Regions from separate parts of the Homo sapiens genome. Here regions 1, 2 and 4 are each linked to region 3. Evidence: promoter capture Hi-C in human tissues and cell types (Jung and others, 2019). All regions are on one chromosome and are shown on one strand. Each heading gives the region's core, a stretch centred on a gene start or on the middle of the fragment in contact. The rest is flanking DNA. Distances are from core to core; before and after follow the strand shown.

What was found. Contacts are between HindIII fragments. The study calls those that stand out against the background at their distance.
Region 1: a fragment that was not itself captured here is called in contact with the fragment with the promoter of RRP7A in region 3 in 1 of the 25 tissues and cell types used here (dorsolateral prefrontal cortex).
Region 2: a fragment that was not itself captured here is called in contact with the fragment with the promoter of RRP7A in region 3 in 1 of the 25 tissues and cell types used here (lymphoblastoid cells).
Region 4: a contact is called between a fragment that was not itself captured here and the fragment with the promoter of RRP7A in region 3, in 1 of the 25 tissues and cell types used here (thymus).

Annotation. Positions count from the first base shown.
Region 1 is chr22:42,179,141-42,182,633 of GRCh38, reverse strand. It overlaps TCF20 (transcription factor 20), which reads left to right. Exons shown (of 6, transcript NM_001378418.1): 3 at 2,932-3,025. Among named protein-coding and RNA genes, the nearest start is that of CYP2D6, 50 kb to the right of the region's middle. The HindIII fragment of the contact is 4,379 bases long and covers 1-3,493 here.
Region 2 is chr22:42,104,762-42,108,187 of GRCh38, reverse strand. All of the region lies in intron 3 of NDUFA6-DT (NDUFA6 divergent transcript), which reads right to left. It also overlaps the pseudogene OLA1P1. Among named protein-coding and RNA genes, the nearest start is that of NDUFA6-DT, 16 kb to the right of the region's middle. The HindIII fragment of the contact is 5,344 bases long and covers 1-3,426 here.
Region 3 is chr22:42,518,546-42,521,835 of GRCh38, reverse strand. It overlaps RRP7A (ribosomal RNA processing 7 homolog A), which reads left to right and starts at 2,040. Exons shown (of 7, transcript NM_015703.5): 1 at 2,040-2,122. The coding sequence starts at 2,050. It overlaps LOC124900479 (a long non-coding RNA gene), which reads right to left. Exons shown (of 3, transcript XR_007068117.1): 1 at 2,483-3,290. RefSeq lists enhancers at 839-1,133, 1,659-1,718 and silencers at 1,899-1,958, 1,979-2,148, 2,159-2,288. The HindIII fragment of the contact is 27,172 bases long and covers 1-3,290 here.
Region 4 is chr22:42,864,233-42,867,514 of GRCh38, reverse strand. No RefSeq gene overlaps it. Among named protein-coding and RNA genes, the nearest start is that of ARFGAP3, 8.6 kb to the right of the region's middle. The HindIII fragment of the contact is 6,267 bases long and covers 1-3,282 here.

The DNA of each region.
Region 1 (3,493 bases), core at 602-3,101, 340 kb after region 3:
TAAGTCCCTAATACAGCCTGAGAGTCTTTCCCCTTTGGATGCAATGTTATAAATTAATCATAGTGGAGTTTGCACACTGCTTGCCAGGTTGTGGAGTTGAGGTAGGAAGCAAATGGACATTGTTCAGATCTAAGCTCCACGTCTTCTCTTTCCTCTTGTAAACCGGGATGGTGATGAGGCCTGCTGTGTGGTTGCTTTTCATGAGATGGTCTTTGTAGATTATCTAGCATATGTCTGACACATGGTCATCTTGGGTCACATTTACTTAGCACTTTTGACCCAGCCACTGTTTTAAGCCTGAATTAATTCATTTAACCCTTATGACATTTCTATGAGGTGAGTGCTATTATTAGTCCCACGTCTGTAGGTTGAGGAACAGAGGTTAGGAGTTTGGCCAAGAAGGCAGAGCTAGAAAGTGGAGCCACTTACCAGGCAGTTATTTAGGTTCCAGAGCATGCATACTTAACCCTTCTACAGCAGCACCCAAGTTTCCTGTAACAAGGCTAGAGGTGGCCTGGTCCTGGGTTTGGGTGATTTAGTGCTTGACAGTGTCATGGTAGGCCCAGGTCTCTCCATCTTGCCACTCTTCTGTCCTCAGCAGGCTGGCTTTGTCTTCAGGGCTGTCCCCTCATGGTGATACTGTGGCTGCCACAGATCCCACTGTCTAATCCTCACAGAGGCTGCGCAAGAAAAATTACCTGTTCCTCCCTCTTGTCTCTTTTTGAGAGGGTGAAACTTTCATGCTTGTAATCTTAGCACTTTTGGAGGCTGAGATGGGAGAATTGCTTGAGCCCAGGAGTTCAAGGACAGCCTGGGCAACATAGTGAGACCCTGTCTCTACAAAAACATTTTTTGAAAAAGCTGGATGTGGTAGCACACACCCTGTAGTCTCAGCTACTCGGGAGGCTGAGGTCAGGAGAATCACCTGAGCCTGGGAGGTAGAGACTGCAGTGAGCCATGATTGTGCCACTGCACTCCATCCTGGGTGACAGAGCAAGACATCGTCTCAAAATATATTAAAAAAAAAAAAAAAAAGGTTGGGGGGAGTGCAAAATGTTTTCAGAAGCCCTTTTTCCTGCAGACTTTCCTACCAGAAATGCTTGACCATACCCATTCCTAAATGGCCACCACTCACTGTGATTCATCCCCCAGGGTAGGGAGGGCCATATCTTCGGGCCTCTTGAGTAAGAAAGTGGCAGCAGGAGGCCAGATGCGATGAGGTCAGGAGTTTGAGACCAGCTTGGCCAATATGCAAAACCCCATCTCTACTAAAAATACAAAAATTAGCCTGGCGTGGTGGCATACGCCTGTAATCCCAGCTACTCAGGAGGCTGAGGCAGGAGAATGGCTTGAAACTGGGAGGCAGAGGTTGCAGTGAGCCAAGATTGCGCTACTGCACTCCAGCCTGGGCGACAAAGCAAGACTCCATCTCAAAAAAAGAAAGTGGCAGCAGACATGGCTGCAGGTTGGCCACCGATGGACTACCCACACTCCCTTCTCTGAAGTTGATAGTCCTTTTGATTCTGAGATGCTCTGTGGCACTGACAAAGGTCGACAGAGTCTAGGGCTACTAGAAATGCTGTGAACTTGTCCTTGGTTTACTCCAGACCAAATGATCTTTTCTCTCTTAACAAGGGTGCGAGGGCACATGATAAACATTTACTGATTATGGGCACCCAGAAGGACCTTGATCTTCTGAGAGCAGGGCAAAGCTTTTGAAGGACTAATCTCTTCCAGCCCTTGTTCCTACCTCTTTTGTCTCTGGAGGATGCCAGAGATGATCATCCAGAATCTCAGCTCTGACCTGGAACAAGTTATTTTCCCTTTGGTGTCTCAAGAGTTTCACGTGAAGCATTAGGAGTGCCTGCCAGGTGGAATAGTGCAGAGGGCTGGATGAGATCATTCAGTCTGAGCGTGGCGAGCGCTTGGGCTTTGCTGTTGCTGGCGTTAGTGTAGTTTTCCATCAGTATCTGTGTCGGGGGCCTGAGCCAGCTCAGTGTAATTGCTTAGGGAACACTTTTATTTTTCATAGAAGCAGGAACAAGTTTCTGTCTCTTCCAGCTAGTCTTGCTGGTTGTGTGCCTCTGCTATCTGAAGAGCCAGCATCCTTAGTAGGGTCACATGTGGTTGAGTTTTATGAATGTGTTTGTTGCTGATAGGACACATTTCTTACCTGACAGGATGAGCACTCACAGCAGCCACATCACAGGGCTGACAGAGATGTGCCCCACTTTAAGAAAACCTGACCATATAAGGAGGAGTGTCTCAATTACAAAATAATGTCTCACTTAGCCAGAAATTCATGGCAGGTTTTCTGGTGCATTTAAAATAAGATTCATGTATAAAAATACCATTTGCACACAGGAGCCCATATTTTCTGAAAAGGGAAATGTATTGGGCATTTGGGGTAAGTAGATCAAAAATAAAAATAAAATCTTCTTACAAATACAAGAACTAGAAACCAAATTCCACTTCTAATTCTAAAAGGTTTATATATAACTCTACTACCTTACCCTCTCTTACCCCAGATTTTCACAGCAGAAGTAAACAGGGAAGATCTGCAGGCCGCTCACGATAGCAGCAAGGAAATGCCTGGCATAGTGTGTGGGTGGGTGGATGGCGGGGGTACCAGAGGCAGGGCTGGGGACCCCACTCTGGCATGTCCTTTATGACATGGATTGCTCATCTCACCCTGCTGTATTGTTGATTTGAGAACATTTGTGAGGCTTGGTCTAAAACATTATTGCTGGATCCCTTCCCATGGTGTGGTCAGTGAATGGCATTTAGAAATTGACCAGCTCATCCTGCCACCACGGACTCCTCTAACCACAGAGACACGTGCTGAGGTCTAACAGATGGGGACCAGGGAAGGCCTGGAGGAGAGGGCCAAATCTGGGATACTGACATGCCTGACTTTTCCCTTCCTTTCAGAAATGTTCCCACTGCCAGGAGGCAGGCGCCACCTTGGGCTGCTACAACAAAGGCTGCTCCTTCCGATACCATTACCCGTGTGCCATTGATGCAGGTAAGAGGAGACCACAGACCCTTGTCCAGAGCATCCAAAGGATTAGGACATACAGTTTGATTCTCTCTGTTGTCGTTGTTTTTTTTCTTTTCTTTTCTTTTTTTTTTTTTTTTTTTTTGTCACTTCATAAAAAAACTTCCCACCCATTAGCAGCACTCATCTCCCTTCCCTTCCCTCCAGTCCCTGGCAACCACTATTCTGTTTTCTTTTTTAAATTTTTATGATTTTTTTTTCCCTTTAAGCTCTGTTGGACTCAATCCTTTCTATCTCTGTGGGCTTTGCTGTACATTTGGGTTACTTCCACTTTTTGACTGTTATGAATAATGCTGCTATAGAACATTCACATGCAAGCATTTGTGTGAACATGTTTTCAGTTCTCTTGGATGTGTACCTGGGAGTAGAATTGCTGGATCATATGGTAACTCTGTTTAACCTTTTAAGGAACTGTCAGACTGTTTTCCAAAATGG
Region 2 (3,426 bases), core at 250-2,749, 410 kb after region 3:
GGTGCCTTGGTCATTCCTTTTAGTGGGGCCTTGGAACTCAAGTTGCAAGAATTGAGTGCTGAGGAGAGACAGCAGTATCTGGAAGCGAACATGACACAAAGTGCTTTGCCAAAGATCATTAAGGCTGGGTTTGCAGCACTCCAACTAAAATACTTTTTCACTGCAGGCCCAGATGAAGTGCGTGCACGGACCATCAGGAAAGGGACTAAGGCTCCTCAGGCTGCAGGAAAGATTCACACAGATTTTGAAAAGGGATTCATTATGGCTGAAGTAATGAAATATGAAGATTTTAAAGAGGAAGGTTCTGAAAATGCAGTCAAGGCTGCTGGAAAGTACAGACAACAAGGCAGAAATTATATTGTTGAAGATGGAGATATTATCTTCTTCAAATTTAACACACCTTAACAACTGAAGAAGAAATAAAATTTAGTTACTGCTCAGATAAACATACAACTTCCAAAAGGCATCTGATTTTTTAAAAATTAAAATTTCTGAAAACCAATGGGACAAATAAAGTTGGGGAGATGGGAATCTTTGACAAACAAATTATTTTTGTTTTAAAATTAAAATACTGTGTACCCTCTCCCCCCAATGAAATGCAAGTTCACTAAATGTGAACACCTTTGCTTTTCATGTGATTAAGACCCTACTCCAAATTATAGAAGCTTTTCAAGAACCATGTTACTCTCATGATACTTCATTAATCTCCATCATGTATGCCAAGCCTAACACATTTGACAGTGAGAACAATGTGGCTTGCTCCTTTTTGAATCTACAGATAATGCATGTTTTATAGTACTCCAGATGTCTACACTCAATAAAACATTTGACAAAACCAAATAAAAAAAAAAGAATCCAAACTGCTCCTCGAAAAGATACTGGCCTTTCCCCTTACAAGATGCTCTATGGATTGCCTTATTTACACTCCACTGCTGATGTTCCAAAAACACCAGTTCCTCAGGAATTATATTCTTAGTCTCTCCCCTACTTTCTCTTTTCTTAAAACCAAAGGTCTCCTAGCACAGGCTCTGCCTCTGGAGTTCCCAGTACATCAACATCAGCCTGGGGATCACGTCCTTATCAAGAGCTGAAAAGAGGAGAAACTTGAGCCAGCCTGGGAAGGACCTTACCTGGTGCTTCTAACCACTGAAACTGCAGTCCGGACAGCAGAAAAAGGATAGACCCATCACACCTGAGTCAAGAAAGCACTGTCACCTCCAGAGTCATGGGCCATTATCCCAGGGGAAAACCCCCTCAAACTAAAGCTAAGAAAAGTTTAACTCTCTTTCGTCTACTCTATTACTCTTTCTTCTTTCCTCATTCTGTTGCTGACCACCTTGTTATCAATGTGACTAAATCAAACTCACCCCAAGTTATTATGTTTGATGCCTGTTTAGTCATACCCTGTAGAGATCTCCAAAGTCAAAGGCAACTCTCAGCCTTAGAAAAGTATCTCTGCCACTTTAAAATAAAAGGCTCCCGCTACCAAGACTCTTGCTCCTCATAAAATATAGGGAAACAGGTCTGCCATAGCTGGAATGATGTTCTGTGGACAACTGAGTATCAAGGCTGGACCTCATCAACATGTGGCTGTATATACTTAAAATCATACATTCACTTTACTAAAGGAAGCACCCCTCCCCTCGATTTTCAGTATAACCAGTGTAATCCAGTGCAGATTTCTACTCTCACTCCGGCCTCTACCGACCCTCTAGACCTACTTTGAGTCGCTTCTATGGCATAGGGACCAACGCGGCACAGACCTCATAGGGTCTTTTGAAATGCGTTTTATTAATCCCTCATCCTCTTCACCCTCTTCCCTCTCTTCTCCTTCTAAGCCTTCTTCTAATCAGACTGCCATACCTTCTATACCCAATGATAAGACTAAAGTAGATATTGTAGAAGTAAATGATCTAAGGCAAACTTTAGCAATTGAAACAAAATATCAAGATGCAAATGCCTGGTTGGAATGGACCAAATATTCTGTCCGCACATGAAACAAAAGCAATTGTTATGCTTGTGCTCACGGCCAGCCAGAGACCCAGATAGACCCCTTTACACTCGGCTGGTCCCCCAGTCAACCAGGCATGGGCAGCATGGTAGCTCTCTTCCAGGATTCCATAGCTTGGGGCAATCAATCATGCCAAGCTCTCTCTTTGCTCTATCCCAAAGTTCAATATCCTGCGGGTCAGCCCCAGAGGGCCATCCAGCTTCTGGCTCCCAATGTCAATTTCACGTCCTGTCTCTCACGACAAGGGGAAAACTTGGTGTTCCTTGGAAGCTTAACAGGATGCAGTGAGCTTAAGCCTTTCCAAGAGCTTACCCATCAGTCTGCCCTTAGTCATCCTCAAGAAGATGTATGGTGGTATTGTGGCGGACCCTTACTGGACACTCTGCCAAGTAACTGGAGTGGTACCTGCACTCTTGTCCATTTGGCTATCCCTTTCACCCTGGCGTTTCATCAGCCAGAAAAAGAAAAGCCACAACACCATAAAATAAGAGAAGCCCCTTATAGGTTTTTTGACTCTCAAGTTTATTTAGATGCAACTGGAGTCCCATGGGGAGTACCTGATAAATTAAAAGCCCGGGACCAAATAGTCTGCAGGATTTGAATCAATATTTCCATGGGTAACTATTAATAAAAATGTAGACTGTATAAATTACATCTATTATAACCAACAGCAGTTTATTAATTATACCAGGGATGCTGTCAAAGGAATAGCTGAGGAGTTAGGGCTGACTAGCCAGATGGCTTAGGAAAACAGAATGGCCCTAGGCATGATACTAGCTGAAAAAGGTAGAGTTTGTGTTATGATTAAAACTCAGTGTCGTACCTTCATCCCAAACCATACTGCCCCAGATGGGAGCATAACAAAAGCCTTACAAGGACTTACCATTTTATCTAATGAATTAGCTAAAAATTCTGGAGTCAATAACCCTTCTTCAGGATGGCTAGACAGGTGGTTTGGTAAATAGAAAGGAATCATAGCCTCAATTCTTACTTCTCTTGCAGTCATAATAGGTGTACTCATTCTTGTTGGGTGTTGTGTCACACCATGCAACCATGGGCTAGTACAAAGGCTTATAGAAACAGCACTTACTAAAATCTCCCTTAGCTCTCCTCCACCTTATTCAGATAAGCGTTTCCTTTCAGACGATCAAGTCAAACAGCAAAGCCAAGACATCTTAAAAAGGTTTGAAGAGGAAGAACTATAAAAATTAAAAGGGGGAAATTGTAGGATACAATAAAATTCTTCAAAGGTTTAGCCTGTTAACTTCCTTGTTCTTTGTTCTCAAACTCAACTTTCTTGTTCTCTATGCCTCCTTGCCCCTAGTTACTGTAACTGTAAACAACTTTCCTGTCAGTCCTAATCAATAACTCACATCTGTTCCCTTGGTTACCCACTCTTCACCCGTTCCTCCCTT
Region 3 (3,290 bases), core at 791-3,290:
AGCCTGGGTGTCAGCAGAGTGAGACTCCGTCTCAAAAAAAAAAAAAAAAAAAAAAAAAAAAGGCTTATGCCTGTAATCCCAGCACTTTGGGAAGCCGAGGTGGGCGGATCACAAGGCCAAGAGATCGAGACTATCCTGGCCAATATGGCGAAGCTCTGTGTCTATCAAAAATAAGAAATTTAGCTGGTCATGGTGGTGCACACCTGTAATCCCAGCTACTCAGGAGGCTGATGCAGGAGAATTGCTTGAACCCAGGAGGCGGAGGTTGCAGTGAGCGGAGATCGCGCCACTGCACTCCAGCCTGGCGACACAGCGAGACTCCATCTCAAAAAAAAAAAAAAAAAAGTGATGTTGTGTGGCCAGTCCTGATATCCATCGAGATGGCTCCTTGAAGCGTGGAAGCAATACATGAGAGGGAGATAACAGAACGATGGTGGCAGGGCACTGAGAAGGAGCCAAAGGCCTCGGGGAGGGGGATGTGCAGGCACAGATTTATTATGCAACATCTGAGAAGCCAGATGACCGTATTTCTGGAGGGTTCACCAGAGACTGCTTTGACTAGTGGGGGGTCTAGGCATCAATGGGCAATCGGCATGGCCGTCCTCTGAGGCCAGGGTAGAAGAGGGCAAATAGGACTGGAGCCGGGCTCGGAAAGGTCAGCAGGAGATAGGATTCCAGAGAGCAGAGGTTCGGTTGATGTGACTGTCAGAACAGGAGCAAGGCCAGAGTGGCTGCCAGGGATCCTGGGCGCACAGGAGTCTCTGGTGAATGCTAGTAGACCACGGTATTCCCAGGGGCCACGGAAGCCCCAACACTGCTTGACTGCGCTAAGCAAAGAAAGATCAAAAACAAAAAACGAGCGAACAGGACAGTAATGGCAGCTGCTGATGGAAAATCCCAACCCCTCATCCAGTTTCCAGGCCTAAGCTAGGCCTCAGAACCAGAGGTCACTGACTGAAAGGGAGGCTGGGTCCCCTCCAGACCACAAATATTTGCAGTAGTAGGCTCCTAATCTTTCCCCAAAGGGGCCGACAGCATTTCCAAGAAGCAACTGTACACTGGGAAAAGAGAAATAGTAGATACATCAAGGGCTGGCGGGTACACAGTCTGAGAGGCCCTTTGGAGTCCAGAAAAGTGGAGTCCTTGGACTTCATTTCTCCCCTATCTACACTTGCTCCCTTGGCGATCACACCCTCTCATAACTTTCTTTTTTTTTCTCTTTCTTTTTTTTTTGAGACAGAGTCTCGCTCTGTTGCCCAGGCTGGATTGCAGTGGGGCGATCTTGGCTAACTGCAATCTCCGCCTCCTGGGTTCAAGCGATTCTCCTGCCTCAGCCTCCCGAGTAGCTGGAATTACAGGCATGCACTACCACGCCCGGCTACTTTTTGTACCTAGTAGACACGGGGTTTCACCATGTTGGCCAGGCTGGTCTGGAACTCCTGACCTCAAGTGATCCGCCCCCCTCGGCCTCCCAAATTGCTGGGATTACAGGCATGAATCACCGCACCCGGCTCCTCTCGTAACTGTCAATAACCTATCCATGGCCAGTCCCGTGTGTATTGCTCCAGGCCTGACATCTCTGATGTTCAGTCTGTTCAGTCTCATATCTAAGTGCCCACCTGACATGTCCCCTGAGTGGCCTAATGGGCATCTCACCACGGCTCACAGAGAACTGATCTACTCCATTTTCACCCCCAAGCAGGCCCCTCTCCTGCAGTCTTCCCATCTCAGTCAATGGCAACACCATCCTCTTAGTTGCTCAGACTGAAAACCTAGCAGCCATCCTGGATTTCTCTCACACTGCCTATTCAACGTGTGAATGCATGAGTGGAAAGCTGAGTTCGCACTCGTGACTGGCCGGGGTCAACTCTGACATTCGCTCCCACTTTCGCGCGCTGATTTATCTCTGAGCGGATGAAGGTTGGGCCATGGCGGGCGGGGCCGGGGAGGCGGGCTTGGAGTGAGGGGGCGGGGCAGGCGCCACGAAAACGCGCTCGCGCCGGCGCCGAACCGCAACTCCCGGCGGCCCCCGCGCTCCCGGGTGGCAAGATGGTGGCGCGCAGGAGGAAGTGCGCCGCGCGGGACCCGGAGGACCGTATCCCCAGCCCACTGGGCTACGCAGGTGAGGGGCTCCGGGACGCGAGACCGGGGGCGGTCAGGCATCGCCGGGAGGTGTTTGGGGGTTGGCGACGGCCGGGGGTCCCCAGGAGCGGCCGCACGGTTGGGTGTGAGCCCCGGTGGCCCGTGGCCCCAGGCTCCGCAGGTCTTGAGGCTCCGGGGTCCCGAGGACCCAGGCGGCGCCCTTCTGCCTGCTCACTCTCCCGGGGCGAGCCCAACTTGGTCCACGCTTCCCTTGGGTGAGCCCGCCTCTGTCCACACTCTCACCCAGGACAAACCCATTTCCGTCCACACCCGCTCGTCCAGGTGAGCCCATCCCCTTCTCATCGCCTCTGCTCCTAGTCCATCCCCCATCAGCTCTTACCTGGGCTGTTATAGGCCCTCCTACTCGGTTGCCCTCCTTCTCCTCTTGCCCCTGCTTCTGTTCTCCACCCACGTGCCAGAATGTTCTTTTAAGGACATTTAGATTCGATCATGTCTGCCGCGCCCACGATAGGCGCCACACCTACTGCATTCCCTCCAGTGGCTTTATCAGGTAGCTTCTAAAACAAAAACCAGACTTCTTAACCTGTGTGGGCCACGTGGTCTGGCTGGTGCCGACCTAAAGCTCTTTCTGTTCCTCTGAGGGAACATGCTTTTTCCCCCCTCTGGGTTTTTGCACGTGCTGTGCCGGTTTGTTGCACAGTGGCGTTCTGGCCTGAGCTTTAATGTTGCTTCCTCAAAGAGGCCATCCGTGATGGCCTATGGAAAGAAGACCTCTGCCACCCCATCACCCTGTAATGTTTCTTTCACAATTGATACAAGTTTGCTGTATGCTTGTTAATTGTCTTCTCCGTTATTGCAACTGAGCTTCCTGAGTTCAGGGACCGCAGCTCTACGCCAACCGGTACTGTGACGGAGGTGTGAGAAAAATAGAAGCAGTTCCTAGCTTTATGAGGATTACAGTCATGGGTGTGCCAGCGATTAACCAAAGAATCTCATCAATATAGCCTCCAGACTGTTAAGAGAAGCTGTGAAGGCACAGGCAGTGGGATCTGAGCTGGCAGGAGGGGCGGAGGTGATGCTAAGGCTCTCCTGAGGAAGCGAGGTTTGAGCTAAACCTGAGGTGAGCGGGAGGGAAGAGGGTGACACGCCAGGTAGAGAGGCCAGCATGTGTGAGGCCCTGGTGTACC
Region 4 (3,282 bases), core at 779-3,278, 350 kb before region 3:
GTGTGGACCACCTGACCAACCCCCTCATAGTTCATGGGGAAACAGGACAAGTGAGAGGAAGCAGTGACTTCGCCGTGGGCACAGACCATGTGGTTTGGGAAGCTGAGCAAGGCCTGACCCCTGAGTGGCCCAACCTGGTGAGGGATCAGCTGGCTCTCCTTATGTATCCATTGTGCAGTCATTCATTCACCATGCATCTATTGAGCACATACTGTGTGTGAGACTCAGCGGTGCCAGGACAAACATGAAGAGAAGCCAATCTTGCCCTTGGGAAACTCTGGTAGGCTCAGAGAAGGACCTGTGTTATTCTGACACCATGATGGGACAGCCAGAGACAAAGGGCCAGAGTTGTCTTCTGAGAATGTGTGTGCTGGGTTTCAGAAGTCTCAGGCCTCCCAACCCAGGCTCCAAGGCCTCAGAGATCAGAGCACTGCTCAGTCCTTGAGCCGTTCCCCAACTTCCTGTAGGAAGTGTCCCTGAGTCCCCACCTGGGCAGGAGGCTGGACCACAGACAAACGGAAAATGCCTGAGCTTCATTTGCTGAAAAGTAGGGATGACTGGCGGGCACAGTGGCTCATGCCTGTAATCCCAGCAGTTTGGGAGGCTGAGGCGGGTGGATCACCTGAGATCAGGAGTTCGAGACCAGCCTGGCCAACATGGTAAAACCCTGTTTCTACTAAAAATACAAAAAATTAGCCGGGCATGGTGGTGGGCACCTGTAATCACAGCTACTTGGGAGGCTGAGGCAGGAGAATCGTGTGAACCCGGGAGGCGGGGGTTACAGTAAGTCAAGATTGCACCACTGCACTCCAGTCTGGGAAATAAGAGCAAAACTCTGTCTCAAAACAATGACAACAAAAAAACAGGGGTGATGAAGTGAGGATAACTTAAGGGGTGCTCAGAAGCCAAAGACCCTGCCAGGTGGGCACCCCAGCCTGTGGGTGCCCTGTAAGCTTTCCTTCCCCCACCCCTTTTCACAGTCCAAGGTCTCCCCAGAGTGGTGGCTGTCCGCTCTGCTCCCCTCCCTTGTCCACCCTTCCTGAAGCCTCCTCTGAGGCAGGGAAGGTCTGCGCCCCTCCCCAGCCCTTCCACAGACACCTGTGGAAGACAAAGGCCACTCTCTGGGCCTCGGTTTTCCGAATAAATGGGCTGCATCTCTGTGGCCCCTGTGGTGGCAGCAAGCAGAGGGGCCCTCAGGCCAGGACGGAGTCAGCTCCAGGTGCCAGCCAGTGAAAAGAACCAGGGTCAGGATGGAGGTGGCTCCACCACACCTGGGAGGATGTGCCCAAACTGAGCTAAATCTGGCCTCGCCTGCAGTTGAGGTACGAGGCTCATTTCTGGCCAGGCATGACCACCACCAGGCACAGGGTCGGAGGAACCACAGTGCTCATCCTCCCTCTAGCCTGGGTATGTGGCACTAAACCAAAAAGAAAAAAGAAAACGCAACAAATCTGGGACTATCCTATGAAACCCAGATTATATTGTTCTAGGCATCTACAAATCCTTTGTGGAAAGGGCTAGGAAAGGAAGGAAGGAAGAAAGAAATGAACTAAATAAGTGATGTCACTCTTAGGGGAAAGGATACCAGCACCAACGGCCAGTGGACCAAAACTCAGACGCCAGAGGAATACTAGGTGCTAGACCTCCCGAAGGTTGCAGAAACCCAGAGCGCCTTAGGGTTAGGGTTAGGGTTAGGGTTAGGGTACGAGGACCTAAAAGACCCTGAGCTCAACAGCATTCGGATCACCAAGGCAGCCGCCTCAGGGCATGTGAACTACATACAGTCACTGGCCGCTTCTGGGCAAAGACAGCCAGGTGGCCCTGCCACTTTATGGTATTTTCCAATAGGAATCTTAATTATTTTTTCCTGATTGTAAAAGGAACAAAGGCTCAGATGAAAATTTGGAAATTTAGTAAAGGTATTCAGAAAAACATTAGTTATCTGTGATCCTGACTTCCAGAGGTTACATTGCTAACATTGGGGTGTATTTTTTTCTGGTATTTTTCCTAACATATATGCACATGTGCCATTTTCTTTTTTTCTTTTCTTTTCTTGAGGTGGAATTTCACTCTCGTTGCCCAAGGCTGGAGTGCAATGGCACAATCTCGGCTCCCTGTGCCCCCCACCTCTCAGGTTCAACAATTCTCCTGCCTCAGCCTCCCGAGTAGCTGGGATTACAGGTGTGAGCCACCACGCCCAGCCACATGTGCTGTTTTCTTGTCGTCATCATCATCATCAATGTGTGTATGTGTCTTACAAAATTGGGATCGTACTGTAAATATAGTTTCGTTCTCCTGCCATTTGATCATGAGCATTTTCTCATGTCCCTAAATATACTTCAATTAAAAATAAACACCAGACATAGTGGCTCATACGTGTAATGCCAGCACTTTGGGAGGCCGAGGTGGGAGGATCACTTGAGCCCAGGAGTTCTAATCCAGCTTGGGTAACACAGGGACACCCTGTCTCTACCAAAAATAAAAAAAAAATTAGCCAGGCATGGTAGCACACACCTGTAGTTCCAGCTACTCAGGAGGCTGAGGTGGGAGGATCACTATAGCCTGAGAGGTCAAGGCTGCCGTGAGCCATGATTGCACCACTGCACTCCCGCCTGGGAAACAGAGCAAGACCCTGTCTCAAAAAAAGAAGTGAAAGAAGTAGAGGAGGTGGAAGGAGCAACAGGAAAGGCTGGCACACTCAAGTGTAACTTTTATTGAAAAAAATCTGGCTGGGCATGGTGGGTCATACCTGTAATCCCAGCACTTTGGGAGGCCGAGGTGGGAGGATGAGGTCAGGAGTTGGAGACCAGCCTAGCCAACATGGTGAAACCCCGTCTCTACTAAAAATACAAAAATTAGCCAGGCATGGTGGCACACACCTGTAATCCCAGCTACTTGGGAGGCTGAGGCAGGAGAATTGCTTGAACCTGGGAGGTAGAGGTTGCAGTGAGCTGAGATCGTGCTACCACACTCCAGCCTGGGTGACAGAGCAAGACTCCATCTCAGAAAAAAAAAAGAAAAAAATCCACATGTAAGTGGACCCATGTAGTTCAAGCTCAAGTTGTTCATGCGTGAAGTGTACTGTTTAGTGGCCGAATGATACTCATGCTGTAAGTCCCATGTTGCTGAGCATTTGCTTTGTTTCCCATTTTTCTCAGTTCTTAAGGTATAATTTATGTATATACTTTTTTTGTTGTTGTTGAGATGGAGTCTCCCTCTGTTGCCCAGGCTGGAGTACAGTGATGCCATCTTGGCTCACTGCAACCTCTGCCTCCTGGGTTC